Linked DNA regions of Homo sapiens: regions 1, 2, 3, 4, 5 and 7 are each linked to region 6. The links are contacts of gene promoters, found by promoter capture Hi-C in blood cells and fetal thymus (Javierre and others, 2016). All regions are on one chromosome and are shown on one strand. The core of a region is centred on a gene start or on the middle of the fragment in contact, and the rest is flanking DNA. Distances in the headings are between cores, read along the strand shown.

Region 1 (2,700 bases), core at 37-2,536, 2.2 Mb after region 6:
ATATGAAAGGCTTATTTATTTATCTTAGAGACAGGATCTTGCTATGTTGCCCAGGCTGGTTTCAAACTCCTAGGCTCAAGCAATCCTCCTGCCTTAGCCTCCCAACGTGTTGGGATTACAGGTGTGAGCCACCACACCCAACTGAGTTTTTAAGTGAGATTCTGTTAATACTTACTCTCAATTTTCTAAGAAATATATTTTTTCCCATTTCAAAAAGAGTACATTCTACATGCTACATTCTAATGACTTTTATATCTGTATCTGTCTTCCAAGCCCATATTAGAAAGGCAAGCATAGTGCAGCAGTTGCAAGCAGGCCGTCATTTTATTGAGATAGACATACCACTTAATACCAAAGGAAAAGACTGGAAATTGAGACCAGAATACAAAATGTAGTAGCTGGGAACCATGCTATGTGGAATCAAACTGTATATGCAACACTGACTGCTAAAGAAAATTGTGAAACTGTACTTGTAGGTTTTACTTGGAATCTATGATCACAGACCTTAGATGGCTGCTTTATACTGCCTGGCAGAGTTTGTATGCTGTACTTCTCAGACAACTTTTTCAACCTAAATCCTTTCTCTCCAAAACTTAAGCATCTGTACCTCAGCCTCACCCTAAGCTCTTGAAACAAGCGCCCATCACTCTCATCTGTATACTACCAAACCACAACTCTGGTTAAATGTGCAGCCCCTCTTCTTTATCTTTAAATTTGTAAAATGTATTTTATCACCTGCTCCATTTCAGTTGGATTATTCCTGTTACCACACACACTTTTTTTTTAAACTTCTCCCATTTAAAGTAACAACAACGAATAAAGAAGTCACAGCCCTACCTCTCTCCCCCTTAAAAAACAAAGCCCCTCCATATCCATTTCTTAGTTTTTGGCCATTCCTCTATTTCCCTTTGTAGCCAACTTTGTTGAAATGTTGTCTACATAAACTTTACTTTTTCACTTTCTCATTAACTAGTGTTATACTATCTTTTAGTTCCTTTTTAGTTGGTTTTATTAATCCCTATGGATTTAGGTGCCACAATTATGTAATCACCTCAAATTATCTCTGAACTGCAGATTCTAATATCTAGTTGCCCTGTCACTTTTACTTGATGTCTCATGGGTACTTAAAACTCAGCATTTTTAAGTTCTTGATTTCTTCCTGATCTCTTCCATATCAGAAAAGGTACCATCATCTTCAAATCAGAAATGTAGATATTATCCTTTATTGCTTACTTTTGTTCACTCTCTACCTTTAGTCCATCAGCAAGACCTGTTGATTCACTGCCCTTGTCTCCCTCTAATTCACAGAACAACCAAAGGGATCTTAAAATGTGAATCAAATTATTTATCTACATTGCTTTGAGACCATTATTTAGCATAAAATCTGAAGTCCATACTATGACCTATTAGCCTTTGCATGATCTGTTCCCTTCTTACCTCTTCAGTCCCCTCTTATGTTTCTCCTTGAAGCTCTTGCCTCATTGCCTTTTAGTTACTGTAATGTCCTATGTTCTTTCATGCCTCTGTGCTTTTGGATTTGGTGTTCTCTGCCTGAAATGCTCTTCTTCTGTTTTCTCATTCTTTAGGTTGCTGGTTAAATGTCTCAGAGAAGTTTTTCCTCACCTAATATCTAAGGCTGTCTCTCACATTTTCACCACTTGTTTCATTCTTTCATGTGGTATGACAATTTATTTTTCACTATTTAATTGGTTAAATTTTACCCCAACTGGAATATAACCATCAAAAAGGCAAAGGCTTTGGCTTTAATTGGTTGTGATTATATCTCCTCTGCCTAGCAGAGTATCTGAATACAGAAGGTTCTCCCTAAGTGACTGATAAATGAATGAATGGGTAGGTGAATAACAGACTAGAAGTGACCCTAAAAGTATCGAGCATCCTTAGATTCCAACTTTGAACAATAATTCTCACTAATAAAGATAACCCTGAGTTATCCCATAGGAAATGTAATAAATCTAAGCCATTTTAGAGAAATGAGTTTACAAAATAAGATTTAACAAATATGAGTATATTTAAAAAGAAAATGTGTCTTAAGGCCAGGCGCGGTGGCTCACGCCTGTAATCGCAGCACTTTGGGAAGCCAAGGCGGGCAGATCATGAGGTCAGGAGGTGGAGACCATCCTGGCTAACACGGTGAAACCCCATTTCTACTAAAAAATACAAAAAATTAGCCGGACATGGTGGCGGGCGCTAGTAGTCCTAGGTACTCGGGAGGCTGAGGCAGGAGAATGGCATGAACCCGGGAGGCAGAGCTTGCAGTCAGCCAAGATCGTGCTACCGCACTCCAGCCTGGGTGACAGAGTGAGACTCTGTCTCAGAAAAAAAAAATAAGAAAATGTGTCTTAAAATATTTCATTACTATAGGGCTCTAAATAAAATCTAATTTTTCCTATACTGAGAGTTCTTTCACTAATTATTATTTCTCAAAGCTGAACAACTAATTTTAGTCTTTATACATGAGTTATTCTGGATCATTTTCTTTTATATGAGTTATTTCTTATAAGTGTTCTTCTAAATGTTATGCACTCATCTTCATTATTTGTGGATTTTGTTTTGTGATTTGCCTACTTGCTAAAATTTATTTGTAATTCCAAAATCAGTGCTTTTATGGTCATTCATGGACATAGACAGGGACGAAAAATTTGAGTGGTCCATACATGCATGTTCCTGGTTGAGGTCTAA
Region 2 (2,700 bases), core at 186-2,685, 2.3 Mb after region 6:
GGATGAAAGTCAGATAACAACCACTATCAGGGACGCTACGGCAGCCGGGAGCCCCGGAAAGATTGGGCCAAGCCCCTTCCAGAGCCTCTCGTTAGGTCTCAGAAAGACTTTTTTAGGGTCCCTACTCCCTTTTCATCTGAGCTTTACTCTTGACTTTTGTTATGAATTCCCAAAAGGAAGGCAGGCAATAGGGGAGGGACCATGGAGGAAAAAATAAGAGCTAACAGGAGACACTCAGATTATATATTTATTTTATATAAAGAAATGATACATATGTAATTTTAGATTTTCTTCCGAATTAGAGTTCTCAGGCTATAGAAAACCTATTTTTAACACCCGCTTCTCCCATAACGGCCTTGATTGCTCAAATTGCTTCTAATTGGATGGCACACATTACTGGAGACGAAGGACGAATGACAAGCAGCCTTCATTCTTTTGCAGATTTAGATAATGTCTCTGGATGAATATCTTTTCTGATCAGGAAGAACAGGAAAACTCTTAAACTGCCTGCAGTTTTCATAAGGGGTTTGTGCAATAGGGGGAAATGTCCTGACCATCACACGAGCATGGAAATTGATGGCATTTTACAGAAAGCACCGCATAATAATCTAGTGCCACCGTTTTTCCTCCCGGATCTGTCATGGTACAAAGAGTAAACACACTTTTTTTTTTTTAAACTCACTTAGCCTTCCTTCCATCTCTTATGTGGGATCTGTAAAAGTTTTCAGTAAACCTCTTTAAAACGTATACGTTATCCATATCCCCCTTCCCCTTGTTCAAGGCTTGGCCGGCCCTGAGTGCCCTTGGTGCGGCGTGCCAGCCCTGACAGCCGCAAGCAACGGTCATTATTACCTCGCAGACCGGCGCATTTCAGAGTCAGCGACTAGCGGATACCCATGGGCTCCGGGCTATTGTACCACCGAGAGGTGTAAACCCAACTGGAGTTTGCTGAAGGCAAGCTTCCAAGGTGAGGGCTGGGTTTTCTCGGGTGCTTTCGGGCCGATCCGGGGTGGGGCACCTCAGAGGCTAACACTCATCTAAAGCTGGTAGAGGCTGAAATATTATGGACACCTGAACAAATCCGAGACACGCATGATGTCTCGCTAAACTGCAGTTTCATTTTTTCCACTACCCAGAAACAAACAAACAAACAAATACATAAATAAAGTCATTGTTCTAGGCCAGAGAAAATATGCCAACAAGAAGTCACCCTTTCTGTTTCAACTTCAAAGGCAATGGATTTTTCTTGCAATTCTTTTATTTTAGAAAAGGAAACTCAGAATGGCAGGGGGAAGCCCCTCCAGGCCACTTTAAATTTCTTCACAGTAGAGTCCTGGGCGAAGAGTGAAGATCCTGGGATAAGGGTGTTTGTGGGTTCTTTGAATGGAAGCCCACCCAGGGCACCTGGCTGCAGAGTAGGGCGTTGGCACCGCCCGGATCGGTAGCCCGCCGCCTGCGCCTTTCCACCATGCCCAGGCACAAGTTTCCTTTTCTCTTCGTGCAGCAAAGTAAGAATGCCCCAATTTTTGAGGAATCTAACTCTTCTGCTGCATTAAAGGCCCACATGCTCTATAGTTTCACATTTTACATTGGCCCTGAGAATGAGGTTATTAGTCTCATAAGAAAAGATTGGGCAGTAAGAAATGCTAAAAGATGGAATTCCAAATTGGCCCCTGCAGTAGGAGTGTGCGTCACCCCGGCCTTGGCTGGGTCGCCAAACACTGTCGAAACTTTCTGGCTGTCTTTAGAAGATACCCTCTACTAGTCACTTGACGGGCAGGAGGTGCAACGCGGAAGGAAACATCACGGATTGGGGGTACTGGAAACTTTTAAAAGGTCTGGAAAATCCCTCCGATTTAGTGGATGCTTTTCCGCGGCAGTTTAAAAACTGAAAGGCAACATAGAAGCTTCTACTTTAAAAAGGTAGCCCTGGTGATCCAATCCCGATCTTTTGGCTGGCAAAGAGGCAATTGCCTGAAAACGAAATTGGCATTCAAAAAGGGTCAGGTACAGCCCAGAGTCCCTGTACTCATTTTAGACTCAAGAAAAGGCGCTTCCCATCCCTAGCTCTTTTAGAAAGAGAAAGGAAAAGGAGGAGAAAGCAGAAAGGGGGGAGAGCCGAGAGCGCAAGAAAGAAAGAGAAGAGGGGGATATTTAGCAAGTTAAAAGGTTAAATGTTTGAACAGATTTGTAAATATATAGACAACCCTTGTTATTTGGGATGTGTAATAATGCCTTTTTGTGGCGCTGTCTGGCTGGGAGGCTGCCGAGGACCGCTCCCTGGCACCTTCTTCACTAGGAAATGAACAGTAAGTTCATGGACTCAAAAAACAAAAACAGGGCTACCCTCCTTTGGAGGAAAGGGAATTCTCCCTCTATTCGGTCATTGAAAAATAAAAAGAAAAGAAGAAAAAAGAAAGTAAAAGGAAAGCAGGATCAATGAGATTTTATTTTTCTTAGGTATGATTTTTCAGGGAGCAACCCAGAAAGCTGTCTTCAGGCTGAAACAATTTCAAAGTATTGTTTAAGCGGATGACATTCTCCAGCACTCAGTTATCCATTGTGCATCTATTATATCTTTGAACTCAACTCTCTTGTCTAACAAGGTTGTGTGTGTGTGCCTGTTGTGTATGCGTGTGTGTTTAGAAAACCTAGGTTCCCCAGTGGTGCTTCCTTGGCTGAATAGGGTGGGTTTCTTTC
Region 3 (2,700 bases), core at 174-2,673, 2.2 Mb after region 6:
TGTCAAACATGTCTTTTCATTAATTGATTTTGGCTAATGACTTCTTTGAATACATACCTGTAGAGATATTTTCTATAATGTCAGAAAATACTCTTAAGGAAAAGTGACAGAATTTAGGAAGCTTTCTTCCATTGAACCTTTTATTTGTTACTTTTTAGTACTGTAATGAAACATTTATGCATGTCTTGGCTAGAGATTAAGTGGCTTGTTAATATGTTTAAGAATATTTTGTTCCTTGTCAACACTTTAATGACTATGGCATTGCTTTATATGAGATATTACATTATTTATTCAACCTCTTTTAACTGTGGAAAGTTATCTTTTAAAATAAACAACTGTTAATTTGAACACCAATATGTTAAAATGGTTTGTGACTTGTGTTTAATTAGAATGTTTTCTATTGTTATGAAAAAGTATCTTTTTCCTTTCCCTCTTTGTTGTTGGTCTTCCATTTGCCTTGTCATTTATACTGCGGAAAATGTCTTTTTATTTCTAAATTTAATCAAAATCTGATAAATGACTTTATATTGTCATCTTTATCCGAAAGTCTGGAGCTGGTATTTTTTAAGATAGTTACATCAAATTCACACATTCTACTGTTGTAGTTCTAATCTTTAAAAAATTTAGAATGTATCTAGGCATTGAGGATTTATGCTTTTTGACCTTTGAAAGGGTCAAAAAGCTGTACTGAGGTATTGAGGATTTATGCTTTTTGACCTTTGGAAGGACATTAAATTTCTTGTTTTTCTGATTTAGAAAATGGCAAAAAAATTATGCTTTCACTTTTTAAGGAAATTAAAAATGTATTTTATGCTGTAAAACAGTGCTGACAAACCCAATTAATTCTGTAAACAATTAAATTTGGAAATAGATAAATCTGAGTTCAAATTATAGTTGTTGACAATTATGTTTTATAATTCTATTTGTAATATTAAGATGAACTATATGAAATTGCCATTTTGTAGGTCAAGACAATTAAGTATTAGCAATTTCATAGGATTCAACCAATAAATGTACATTAGATATCAATAGGTGTTCTTATTCTTTAGCTGCTTTTCTACCAAATTCTTCTGTTCTTTCATTTCATATTTAGTATAGGCCCCCATTTTTTACTTCCAGTCCAGTTTACTGTGTCTGTAAGCGCTGCAGGTATGTTAGAAAACCAGTGAAGGCCACAGTAGTGGGATACCAGAGATGCTCTATGGGAAGGAAGTCTGCTGGTCTCTTCATGATTGTTTTGTGCTGCTTTTATCAGCTTTGGCATTATATGGGAGAATTTCTCTTCTGGATTAGACAGTCCTCAGACCTACCAAAGAACCTATTGGAAATAACCATCTTCAAAAACCCAGTTTGGGTCCATCAGTTCCACATACATAGTTTCATCACACTTTTCTTCTCAAGTTTCTAGACCTCTTAGTCACATTGCCAGAGTGGTAATTCTGGTTTTTATCTTATGACATGACATTTTTTTCCTCCTTTGAAGACCCTGATCTTGGTGTGGTTATTCTTCAAATTTTTCTTTCAAACCTTGTCCATTTTGGTGCTTTCTTTGGTTCTTTTGATTACCCACTTAATCATCCTGGATTTTCCTATTCTTGTAACCTGTATAATGTCCCATGATGATCAATCTTTTTTTTTTTTTTCCCTTAAAATTTTTTTTACAGTTACAGAGGGTCTCACTTTGTCAGGCCGGAGTACAGTGGTGCACTCATGGCTCACTGCAGTCTCAACCTACTGGGCTAAAGTGATTCTCTCACCTCAGCCTTCTGAATAGCTGGGATTACAAGCACATGCCACCATACTCAGCTAATTTTTTTGTTTTTACTTTTGGTAGAAGGGTGTCTCGCTATGTTGCCCAGGCTGGTCTTGAACTTCTTGCCTCAAGTAATCCTCCTGCCTTGGCCTCCCAAAGTGTTGAGATTATGGACATGAGCCACCACATCCTGCTAAATCAATCATTTTTCTGATGTTTTTACCTAATATGCTGAATCATGCAGATTTGCAGGTGCTTGGCAATCATTCAATCAATTCTATGTTCCTCTTTTGTCAAAATTTTCACAAATTTTAGCTGTCCCTTCTTCCTCTCCTTTCTTTTACAGCTCAACTCCTTACCCCATTGTGGTTCTTAGGAGATGATCTGAGAATTTTGAATTTTGAAATTTGAAATAATCTATAATAAGTTCTTCAAATAACTCTATCTACTGGAAGGTAGGACATCTAGAACGTTGACCTAGTTTTTCAACTACCCTGATCAAATTCATATAAACTGTGAGACCTCTGTTTTCAGAATTAATACATCTCCATACCTATATGTGCTTTCAATTCAGTAGGATATATGAGATCTTGTAATAGATAAACTTTTTTATGTTTTTGATCTCATCTATTTCTGACCCTTAAGCAGTTAAATTCCCACATTTAACTCTTCAGCACCTCCCTAATGTTGGTTCCTTCCCTTTTGCTTCAAGCATGTACATTTCTCTCTTATAATAAATATATTTTATATATATATGTATTCTAGTAACTGTCAGATTTTTCTTTTATTGCTTAGTTTATCCAATGATTATGCCCATTATTTCCATTTTATCTTTACATAATCACCTAAGTCTTATTTTACTGAAACTTACAGAGATAATTACTAATCTCATGCCTAATTTATTTTTTCTCTAAAAGTTTTAATTTTAAAAATTTTGCTTTTGATTT
Region 4 (2,700 bases), core at 191-2,690, 2.6 Mb after region 6:
TGAGTGGGTTGTTCTTTGCCCATTATTTTAATTCTGCCAGGGAAAACCACAGAAATCCTTACTTTCTGGTAAGTGGCAAAAAAGTGAGAGGAGATGGGTGTGACTAAGTAGGGAAGGCTGCTCTAACTTACTGAAAGGGAGGGCAAAATTGGAGTTTCAGTTTGTTAATACTTTTATCTCCTTCATTTCGGCTTATAGTATGTTTTCCCCTCTGCCCCTTAGACAATCACAGCATCGGTAATAGCAGGATGCTTACACAGAATAATTCAGACCTTCTGACCTTCTGACCTCTGATTATATTTGATTAGGTATGAGTTTACCTGGTAAAATTCATATGTGATCTCCAAGTTCCTACCTTCTAAACTAGTTCCAAAACATAGGGTCTGGCCTATGCAAATGCAATAAATAAGCTAATAATTATTTATTGAGTAGCTATTATGAATTATATACTCTGCTTGAAAGTGAAACATAAATCAGGATCCTACAGTTGTTGTGTAGGGCCAGAGGCAAGGATTTGTAGTCAGATGACCTGAGTTTGAGATCCAGTTAGCACTTACTAGCTCTTAACTTGGAGAAAAACACTTAATCTCACTAAATCCTATTTTCCTCTTTTGTAAAATAAAAACAACAAAACTGTCTATAACATGAGATTCTTGAGAGATTTAAAGAAGATAATCTATTCAAACTGATTTTTTAATAAATAGTAGACTACTAAGCAAACACAAAGAAATGTAGCAGCGATCTTCTGGGTCAGATGACCTGAATTTGGGTATGAGCTGGATGTAGATAAAGAATTGCCTTGAAGAAGCCCAAGTCCCTAAAGAATAAGGAACACACACACACACACACACACACACACACATATACACACATCTGTTTCCTCTAGAGTAGGGGTCCCAACGCACCAGTCTGCGGCCTGTTAGGAACTGGGCTGCATAGCAGGAGGTGAGTGGCTGTCGGGTAAGCATTGTTACCTGAGCTCTGCCTCCTGTCAGATAAGCAGTGGCATTAGATTCTCACAGGAGCCTGAACCCTATTGTGAACTGCACATGCGAGGGATCTAGCTTGTGGGCTCCTTATGAGAATTTAACTGATGCCTGGTGATCTGAGGTGGAATAGTTTCATCCTGAAACCACCCCCCAGTCCCCCACCTCCCCCCCGCACACACACACCACGAAACCAGTCCCTGGTGCCAAAACGTTGGGGATCGCTGCTCTAGAGGTAGCAGGAGTTTGTCAAGGTTTCCTGACTGAGTTTCTAGGAATAAGATATGAAGTGTGAGGAAGATTTCAGCTGCTAGTAGAAGTTACAAGTACTAGACTTGGGGACCACCAAAGGAAGCTTTTCTCCACTTACAATTCTGGTATTAGGAAAAAAAAGTGGCAACACCAATAACCCAGTTATTGGCTGTCACTCTGTGATGCCACAGAAAGTTAATATTCGAGGGGTAGCTTTGTGCCCAGAACTTGAAAATGTAAGGTGACTAAAGTAACAGCATCACTGAAAGAAAGAAAAACTGACTAGAAGCAGCAAGCTTTATATCAGCTACCTAAGAAGGAAGGGACTCGAGGAAGAGTTCCAAAATTACTCTGATGAGGCTCAGGTCCATAAAGTCAGTTTTATGGTTGGTGTTCTGACTGCTATTCTTTGAATTGACCCCTTTGGTTATAGAAAGCACCTGATACTTAAACATACAAAAATTCTAAGTTGACGTACAACTTTCTTTATAGGATGTTTAATATGATTGAGATGAAAGAGCATTCCAGTGTATTTTTCCCACTTTCAAGAATCCTGATTGAATTCAATTTTGGCAGAGTAATTAATAGAATAATTTGTGCTCTATTCTTACTGATATACTTATTTCCCTTCACATAATCCTGCAAAAACTGTCTAGTCCTTGTCTTTCTGTGCTTTAGACGTTGTCATATTTCCAGGGATCCAAAGATCCAGTACTTTGGTTTGGAAAAACTCAGACTCTTAGAAATGATGGGGCTATATTTATCAATAGGGAGAAGGCCCACCCCCCACCCCCAAGGATTAGGAGGGCCAATTGGAGAAGTAAGAGAGGTTTAGAAAGATTTAGTTTTTAGGAGATAGCAGAAGGAAGGAACTAGGGTCCTGCCAGTTCTGCAGATGAAAGGACCAGGGCTTTGGTACCATGCAACATCATAGAGAGATGGCTAGACCTCAGATGGAAGCATTTATGGTAATACCTAGAGAGGGTGGACGTTATGACTTGAGTCTTCAATTTAGAACAGTGGAGCCACCTGAGACCCTGCTGTCTCAGACAATGAGTCTATTAGGGTAGCCAATATGGACTGAAGATGAGACGATGCCCCACAGAACAACCTGGAATGTGTAGGACCCTAGAATTCTTATATGACCTAAGGAGTAGATTCTCAAATTATTTCTAACGTCATTTTTAGAAACATTTTCTCTCCATTCAATTAAGAAGGGACTTGAAGCAGTTTTATCTGCTTTAGAAAAATAAAAATTTTTAAATATGATGATTCTTAAATTCCACACATTTAGAAGAGAATTTACATTTACTATGTCATGAAGCGTTTCAATAGTGACTCCATAATGGACACTGACTTATATTTTTAGATACCTCAGTAAGATAGGTGTTATTCTAATCATGTTACAGATACGGAGAATTAAACTCAAAGAGATGTCATTTGTCTTGCTCCATGTTTTATA
Region 5 (2,700 bases), core at 11-2,510, 3.0 Mb after region 6:
TGATGGTTAATTTCATATGTTCACTTGACTGCAACACATGGTGCAAGGTATTTGGTTGGAAATTGTTCTGGGTGTGTCAGTAAGGATATTTATAGATGAGATTAACATTTGAATCAGTAGACTAAGTGAAGCCGATTGCCCTCCACAATGTGAGTGGGCCTCCATCAATCCATTGGAGGCCTGAATACCACAAAAGATGAAGTAAGGGAGAATTCACTGTCTGTCAGACTGTTTTCTTCTCCTGCACTTCAGCTGAAACCTCTACCATTGGTTCTCCTGGTCCTTAGCCTTGCACTGGAACTATAACACTAACTCTCCTGGGTCTCCACCTTGTAGAATGCAGATCCAAATCATGAGACTTCTCAGCCTTCATAATTATGTGAGCCAATTCCTTATAGTAAATATATACGTAGGGGCACTGATAGTCTATGGCATGAACTGGTAGCAAAGATACACAAAATACCTGCACTGAACACTCCTAATCAACCATTTACAAGAAGCAACAAGTTGGGTGGCTGTGTATATGGTAATTCCAAGCTTTTTTGGAAAACTAATCAATACAATAAGATTGACTGGTTGTTCCACTGTTGCTGGACAAAGTGGTGAAGGAAAAGAATGAGCTCGGGGATTCAAATTCACAGCTTGAGCACCACATAAATGACCTGAGTTTCTATCTGTGTCCTAAAGGAGACCCTTATCTCCTATAGCCAAAGGGCTAGGTTGAAAATTGAATGCAGAATACCATCCCGAGACTAAATTACAATTTAATTTCTTATAAATTCCCAGCCTTGTCGAATGTCTGCTGTTAAAGTGTGGGCACTGATTGGGAAAGAATAAGATTTAGGATGAGGATGTGTGGGAAGACCTTGACAAAGCTGAGGATATTTTGTCTCTAAATTCTGATGTCTCTTTACCAGTGGAAGAGGCCTCTCCACTCCCAGAAGGCATGCCTCCCCATCCCCTGTGGAAACAGCCTCCCCATGCCCCAGTGTTAGTGGCCTCCCCACTACCAGTGGCATCAGCCTTTTTAATCCAGTCTGAGATTAACCCTGCATTGCCTGAGGAAAGTTTAATGGCCTCCCATGAGACAGTTGCCATGCAAGACAATGCTGACTGTCCTAAGACCCACCTCTCTTTGTTTCTAGACCTATAGCTAGACTCAAGTCCCAGCAGGCCCTTAAAAGTGAGGTAAAAAGTGTGACTCATGAGAGGGTTCACTACATGTCAACAGAACTGCTTGAGCTTTCTAATTTGTACAGACAGAAGTCCAGGAAACATGTGTGGGAATGAACATTAAGAGTGTGAAATAAAGGAAGATAAAGTTAGATCAGGCTGAATTTATTGATATGGGCTCACTAAGCATAGCCTGCATTTAGTGTTACGGCTCAGAGAGTTGGAAAGGGCACCATGAATTTGTTCAGTTGGTTGGCTGAAACACGTTCTAAAAAGTAGCCCACAGTAAGTGAACTGAAAATGTCAGACTTGCCTTGGTATAATGCAGAGGAAGAAATTCAAACGCTTAGGGAGATTGTGAAATGTTAGAGTGGATTTGTCATGCAAGACCTATCCACCCACACTGGAAGGATCCATAAAACAAACTTTCACCAGTATTGAGAGAAATAAATGTGTGAGGGGGGCCCTGGCATCCTTGAAGAGTTCTTTGATGCCTCTTCTCTGTAAGCAAGACCATCTTAAGTATGGATTTGCATGCAATGCTTCTACCAAAACTGTGATCCTGGACTTACAGAATGCCTTATCCATGGGCACAGGATTCCACAGATTCCACACAGCATTGCTTCTGATTAAGGGACTCACTTCACAGCAAAAGAAGTATGGTAATGGGTCCATGCTCATGGAATGTATAGGCCTTATCATGTTGCCCACTATCCTGAAACAATTTGATAGAACAGTAGAATGGCCTTTGGAGAACCTAGTTACAGCACGAGCTAGATGGTAATATTTTGCAGTGCTGAGACAAGCTTCTCCAGAAGGCTGCACATTCTCTGAATCAACATCTAATATATAGATAGAGCTGTTTCTTCCATAGCAAGGACTCATGGGTCCAGGAATAAGGGGCAGAAACGGGAATGAATTTATTCACTATTACTCCTTGTGACCCCCTAATAAAATGTTTGCTTCCTGTTCCCATTACCTTATGCTCTACTGGCCTAAAAGTCTTAGTTCCTGAGGGAGAAATGCTTCCACTAGGAGATACAACAATGAAAACTGTGCTCACTTCAGCAGCACATATACTGAAATTGGAACGATACAGAGAAGATTAGCATGGCCCCTGTGCAAGGATGACATGCAAATTCATGAAGTGTTCCATTGAAAAATAAATTAATAAAAACTGCTGCCCAGCCACTTTGAATTCCTCATGCCTCTGAATCAACAGGCAAAGAAGAGAGTTGTGGTGACTGATCAGAACTAGCAAGGGGAAATTGGACTGCTACTGCACAATGGAAGTAAGGTTGAGTATGTCTGAAATGCAGTAGAACCTGTAGGATGCTCCTCTGTACTACATGTCCAGTAATTAAAGTCAATGTAAAATTACAACAACCCAATCCAGGCAAAACTCTTAATGCCCCAGATCCTTCAGGAATGAAGGCTTGGGTCACTTGACCAGGTAGAGAACCAGCTCAGGGTCTTGCTAAAGGCAAACAAATAAAAAAAAAAAAACAGGATAGTTAGTGAAAGAAG
Region 6 (2,700 bases), core at 166-2,665:
AAATGCTTGGCCTATTTTTATTCTTTCTTATTTAAAATAATGTTCTCCTATAACTTGGTCTGTATCTTAAAATTTTAACATATAGTTTTTTTCAATATCATTATGTTCTAGTAACTACAATTTCTCTTTCCTTTTAGACTCAAAGGTGATTTATAAAGGTACTTTAAAATTTAAAATACGAACAAAATAAAAGTTCCACTTTTGTTTTTTAGGGGTGCTATCCCTTAGCTAATTTTTAGCTTATTCTATCATACTATCTTTCCTTGTGCAAATTTAGCCCATCCTTCTAGGTCTAACGTTTATGTCACCTCCTTTAAGAAGCATATCTTGTGTTCTCTCCCTTCTCTAAAATTTTATATACATCCCTTAAACATATAATGTTTATATATTCTCCGCCTTCAACTCCCATCCTCAGGCTATTTTATTCACGTTTATGAGATTTGCTGTTTAGCTCAGTATTTTGTGGATTTTCAAAAGATTCCACTCAATTTACCGAGCACCTACGCACCAGACATTTTATTAGGTACAAGGAAAAGCGTTAAATAGATATAATCACGGCCTCCAAGAAATTGAACCTAGTAAGAGACACGAATAAGCAGACATTCAAGTGAGCTTTAGGAGACTTGGTTTGGTAGTGAAGACAGTCTCATGTGTGTTAACAGCTTACAGCACTGAAAAATAAGAGACAGAAGGGAACAAATCCGTTTCAAACAGTTCAAAGGAGGAAAGAGAGGGAAAGGTGGTTTAGATACAGCTAAATCATAAATAGCCTGATAATCTAACCCTGTGATAATCCAAGTACAGCCACAGCACCTGCCTCAGAATCACTTGGAAGGCTTGTGAGGAGTAAAAACGCAGATTCATACCTACTGAAATTAGAATGGAGAAACGGACATTTAAGTCTGCATTTTAAACACATTCCCCAGGTACTGAGGCCATTCCAAGTTTTAGAACAGAGCACAGCCAATTTTCGCAGACCTTGTTCCTCAAGTACTCCCTCCTTCTAGCCGGAGGGTGGCCTGCAGCATGTCCCTTCCCTTCCCACCGCCGAAGCTGTCCATCCAGTTTCTGAATGGCGGCCCACAGACCGCACGGCTTTACGAGAGAGGAACACAGCGCCCACCCGCCAAACAGCCACACAGGGATCGGAGGCCGGACCCGCAAAGGATTCGGGGAAAAACGCATCGAGCCAATCCGAAGGGCGAGAGCGGCCCTAGATTGGGGGGGCGGGGGGGCGTTAGGAGGTGGGCGGGGCACAGAAAAAAAATTTTTTTTTCCTTGATTGACGTAAAACCTACCCAATGAAAATAGAACTGGTAAAGCTTCCGCCCCCTAATAGGCAGAACCATAGCGACATTTCAACCAATCCAGCTCAAAAGTGTCTATGTTGTGGGAGGTCCCTGAGGCCGCTGAGGTCGTTCGTGTCTGTTGAACGGCTGTGGGCGTCTTGCTGCCTTGGGTAGGGGGTTAAAATCGTTCTTGAGAGGAACGTCTCTGTGCGAAGAGATAATGAGTTTAGCTCTGAGGTCGGTAATAAGGAGGCGGCAGTGCTCTCCACACCCCGGAGCGGGGCCCAGGGAGGGTGTGTGTGGAAGGGAGGACGTTTGGGGCCGAGGCGAGGCAGGGGATGTAGTTTGGGACGCGGGAAAGGAGCCTAGGGCAGCCTGCCCGGATCACTCACCCTCTGGGCTCTGATGCCCTGCAGGGAACGAGACCAGTGCATTTCTGCTAAGGAGGTTATTTCTGTCAGCGCGTAGGGCTTTGGACTGCCAGAAGGTTGGGCTTAGTTGCGAGCGAGGTGGGAATGAAATATCGCGAGGCTTCTACTCTTGTTTCTCAGATCAGGTCGCGGACATCCCTTCATTCATCCGTGTGCCTGGTCAGGGCCCCACCTCGGCTGCTCCGCTGCTAATGCAATCACCCACCTATAAATTTTGGAAATAACAAAAACTCTTTCCTCTTCTCCCAGGGCCCTGCTTTACGGTGTAATTGGAGACCCATTTTAGTGACTTTAATTGGCAGTCTGTCTCTTGGATTTCCTAAATTTCTTGCATTTTTTTACCTTTCAGTTCTAACCTCTAACCCTCTGTTGCCCTCTCCCACTATGTAGACGTTGTACCGTAAAACTATCCATACACTTACGACACTCCGAAAATATTCCATGTTCTGCTAAGGGATAATCATGGTACCCTTGGATGGGGTCAGGGGTGGGTCGGTTCTGGACTTGGCCTCCAAAAGTCTCAGGAAGGAAAAGACTGACCCCAGGAATACCCAAGTTTGTGTCAAGTCAGGTCTCATGAAAGGAAGATCTTCCTCAGCTTTGTTATACTGCACCTACTAGTCACTTCCTAGCTTTTTTTTTTTTTTTTTGGAGCTTTCAGAGACCAAAACGACTTTCAAATGCAACTAGATAGGTGTTTTAAGTACAGTCAACTGGTTTGACATGTTAATGTGTTACCGGATTGTGTTTCAAAACTCGTTATTCCAGTGTTGCGGCTCCATTTGAAAATTTGGAGCACATTTAGATGGGCAGCTCTTAAGGAAAACATTTCTGGCTTTAAAATAATTTTTGCTTTTTTTCTTTAAGCGTTTCCAGAGTTTATGAGAAGTTAACCTCCGGTTTACATGTTAAATGAGACAAGACTCATCACATTTTTATATAGAATGAAGCACAAACATTGTATATTGGCATCTAATATT
Region 7 (2,700 bases), core at 15-2,514, 2.6 Mb after region 6:
GTTTTATTGCTGGGATAGTATTCAAAAAAATGACTGTCAGGGGTGAACGAAGAATTATGTCAAGAGCATTCAGCATTACTGCCACTAAAAAGAGAGGAGGGGAAAAACATTGTGAAGAAAAACATGTCATTTTCTAAATGAGCTAGGGGAGGAGGATAGGGCAATAATGTGGCCTTCAGCTGTTGGTTTATTAGGTTTCCATTCCCATGATCCACATCTGCGTTAGGCAGAAATAGTTTTACTTTTAATACAATTGCACTCTACTACTTTGCTTTCTTATGGAGTAAAAAATAGCTGTGAAAAACGTGCAAATGAGGTTTGTTCTGTGTGGCTGTTGTTTCCCTATCTCCTATGCTATTTTCCTGGTTCTATAGCAAATCTTAGCATTGTTGTCTGATTTGCCATGGAACAGTGAACATTGCTTTTCCTAGCCAAATCATCCAGTGTTAAATGCTATGTGATACAGATCAATAGGGCATCTACAGCTGTACAAAAAGGGCAATGTTGTTTCTATTAACAATTTTGAAAGAGAGTGTGGCCTAGTGGTTAAAGGATTAAATAGGTTGTTGAGGTTTTTGATGTCTTGAATTCTAATTCTACCTAAGCCTTTGGATTCCTGATGAAGTTGTTAGCAGATTTTTTTCATTTTGATCTGCACCAATATACTCATGGGTTATATACTTGGGGATATTATTATTGTGTGATCATTCAATAAATAATAAAAATCTGGAGGACTGATGAAGATTGGAAAAACATCTTGATGACTTCAAAAAAAATGTTGCTTTAAATATTCAATCAGATTAATTACTAATGTTATTTTTCACATAATGGTTTTGTGTTTCAGGCTGTTCCTCCATCTCGCCTGAGCCCATTTAGCAAACTGGGGTAAGGGCTTGTATTGGTTCTAGTTATCTGGATTTTCCTTAAGGAACAGGATACGTTTTGTTTCCTGTAAAGACATAACTTGTCAGTGGCATTTTAATGAACTGTAATGTAGAAAAAGTGGTTGGCTTTTTGGTGCCATTGCCAACCCCAGGTGCAAATGGTTGTTTTTGAGGATTAGCAATATACATCCCTCTTTATTTCATTTTGGGGCAGAGGCCTGTATGAGTCTGTGTGTGTGTGGTTATGTGTGCACATATGTCTATGTGAGAGAAAGAGAGAAAGAAACCGAGACAGAAGAGTTTATAGAATTGTATGTTGCTGTGGTTAACTAAAGCTAACCTTTGAAAGTAGTATAGGCCCTCCTATCGTATTTCCTGCAGAATCAGATTTCTGGATTCCAGATGATCTGAATTCTGTCTTCCTTCCTCCTTTTCCCTCTGTCTGTCTCTGTTTCTCTGTCTCTGTCTCACTTTTCTCTGTTTCTCTTTCTCTATTTCATTCTTTCTCATTCTCCCCCATCCCCAGTTCATTTCAGAAGAATGTTACATGTTTATAAACAATTCACTCAAGCAGCAAAGAGAAGAGAAGGAGGAAAGAGACATATTATTCTTGGAACAAAGACACATATTATCTTTAGTGTAATCAAATAATAGAAGTCCAACATTAATTATATTCAAATATCTGCCATTTGGTTTTAGTGCACTTTATTTTATTTTACTTTTTTATTTTATGTGTTTAATCTTGTACTCCATAAAAGTGGGAATGCAGCCCTTTGTAACTGGAGACTGGTGGAAAACTAAGCGTTCTGAGGCTGATGAGACTGCACATGGAAATGGAGATTGTGGCTATCACTTTGGTCTTATTGGTGACCCAGCCTTGGTCACAGATTAAATACTTAGGGCAGTGCATTGTGGGAAGACATTTGTGAAAACACTTGGAAAACTAGAATTAATATACTATGTTGATAAAGTTTTCTTGATTTTTGGAATAGTTGACTTAAGTTTGTGTGAAGGAATTAAATGAAATAGTCAACAATCAAGTATAATGTCTTCCCCAAATCAATGGGGGATTTAAAAAAACCATTTCTTCTATATTACTCATATTAAAGAGATATTAATTTCAGTCACATTAAGATGTTATATGCTTTCTCTGGCTTTCTTTAAAACCTCCTTATTTTCCTAATTTGTTCCAACAAGATTTTTATTTTAAAAGATGTAATTCAAACATGATATTCTGGTCTACAAAAGGGTAATTTTGCAGTTTTTAAAAGAAAGTACACTTATTTTATTAACAGTTTCCAAATTATTGGTGGGTCTCTTTTTAGTTTTTCTTAAAAATATACAATGACTTTGTAGAATCTTCACTACAGCATGAAACAAAAAATTTCTAGGTGAGAAAAACTTAAGAGCTTATTTCTGTATAATCACAACTCTGCTATTTAATGTTATTTATTATCACAGGGATCAATACTTAATTAGCTTAATGCTTAAATATTCAGCTATTTGAACATTTAATTATTAAATTATTTGATATTCAATTAACCTGGACAAATAAGCCAATCAATATTAAAAGACTTTCTCCGAACAACAAAATAAAACAAACGTTTTGTTATTTAAGTGAGATTCTGATCAATAGATTTTCTTTTATATTTTATGAATTCCGACATTACAGAGAACTAATTGACAAATGAGAATACAATGCATTACTAATAATTTCAAATACTAGTTACATCTGCTTGGTGTGACTCCAAATATAATTTGAATTTGAATTTTTCTGCTTCGCCTACTGCATCTACAAAAGCATTTACAACATTTT

The links. Contacts are between HindIII fragments. The CHiCAGO score rates a contact against its expected background, and 5 or more counts as called.
Region 1: a contact is called between a fragment that was not itself captured here and the fragment with the promoter of CETN3 in region 6, in 3 of 17 cell types (total B cells, non-activated CD4 T cells and activated CD4 T cells). The highest score is 7.5, in total B cells.
Region 2: a contact is called between a fragment that was not itself captured here and the fragment with the promoter of CETN3 in region 6, in 1 of 17 cell types (naive CD8 T cells). The highest score is 9.8, in naive CD8 T cells.
Region 3: a contact is called between a fragment that was not itself captured here and the fragment with the promoter of CETN3 in region 6, in 5 of 17 cell types (total CD4 T cells, naive B cells, naive CD4 T cells and 2 more). The highest score is 8.0, in total CD4 T cells.
Region 4: a fragment that was not itself captured here is called in contact with the fragment with the promoter of CETN3 in region 6 in 2 of 17 cell types (total B cells and naive B cells); the score reaches 10.2 in total B cells.
Region 5: a contact is called between a fragment that was not itself captured here and the fragment with the promoter of CETN3 in region 6, in 3 of 17 cell types (total B cells, M2 macrophages and non-activated CD4 T cells). The highest score is 7.6, in total B cells.
Region 7: a contact is called between a fragment that was not itself captured here and the fragment with the promoter of CETN3 in region 6, in 3 of 17 cell types (naive B cells, total B cells and M2 macrophages). The highest score is 11.7, in naive B cells.

What each region holds. Positions count from the first base shown.
Region 1 is chr5:88,232,226-88,234,925 of GRCh38, reverse strand. All of the region lies in intron 2 of TMEM161B (transmembrane protein 161B), which reads left to right. Among named protein-coding and RNA genes, the nearest start is that of TMEM161B, 35 kb to the left of the region's middle. The HindIII fragment of the contact is 3,354 bases long and covers 1-2,700 here.
Region 2 is chr5:88,142,611-88,145,310 of GRCh38, reverse strand. No RefSeq gene overlaps it. Among named protein-coding and RNA genes, the nearest start is that of TMEM161B, 120 kb to the left of the region's middle. The HindIII fragment of the contact is 948 bases long and covers 962-1,909 here.
Region 3 is chr5:88,253,803-88,256,502 of GRCh38, reverse strand. All of the region lies in intron 1 of TMEM161B (transmembrane protein 161B), which reads left to right. Among named protein-coding and RNA genes, the nearest start is that of TMEM161B, 14 kb to the left of the region's middle. The HindIII fragment of the contact is 2,599 bases long and covers 124-2,700 here.
Region 4 is chr5:87,763,472-87,766,171 of GRCh38, reverse strand. No RefSeq gene overlaps it. Among named protein-coding and RNA genes, the nearest start is that of LINC02144, 32 kb to the right of the region's middle. The HindIII fragment of the contact is 193 bases long and covers 1,344-1,536 here.
Region 5 is chr5:87,419,976-87,422,675 of GRCh38, reverse strand. The region is part of intron 1 of LOC105379066 (a long non-coding RNA gene); the gene reads right to left. It also overlaps the pseudogene RNU6-727P. Among named protein-coding and RNA genes, the nearest start is that of CCNH, 8.4 kb to the right of the region's middle. The HindIII fragment of the contact is 1,442 bases long and covers 540-1,981 here.
Region 6 is chr5:90,408,471-90,411,170 of GRCh38, reverse strand. It overlaps CETN3 (centrin 3), which reads left to right and starts at 1,415. Exons shown (of 5, transcript NM_004365.4): 1 at 1,415-1,526. The coding sequence starts at 1,510. LOC731157 (a long non-coding RNA gene) reads right to left here and starts at 1,171. Exons shown (of 2, transcript NR_105024.1): 1 at 867-1,171; 2 at 502-671. RefSeq lists an enhancer at 1,446-1,645. The HindIII fragment of the contact is 6,726 bases long and covers 1,325-2,700 here.
Region 7 is chr5:87,783,526-87,786,225 of GRCh38, reverse strand. No RefSeq gene overlaps it. Among named protein-coding and RNA genes, the nearest start is that of LINC02144, 52 kb to the right of the region's middle. The HindIII fragment of the contact is 3,740 bases long and covers 1-2,700 here.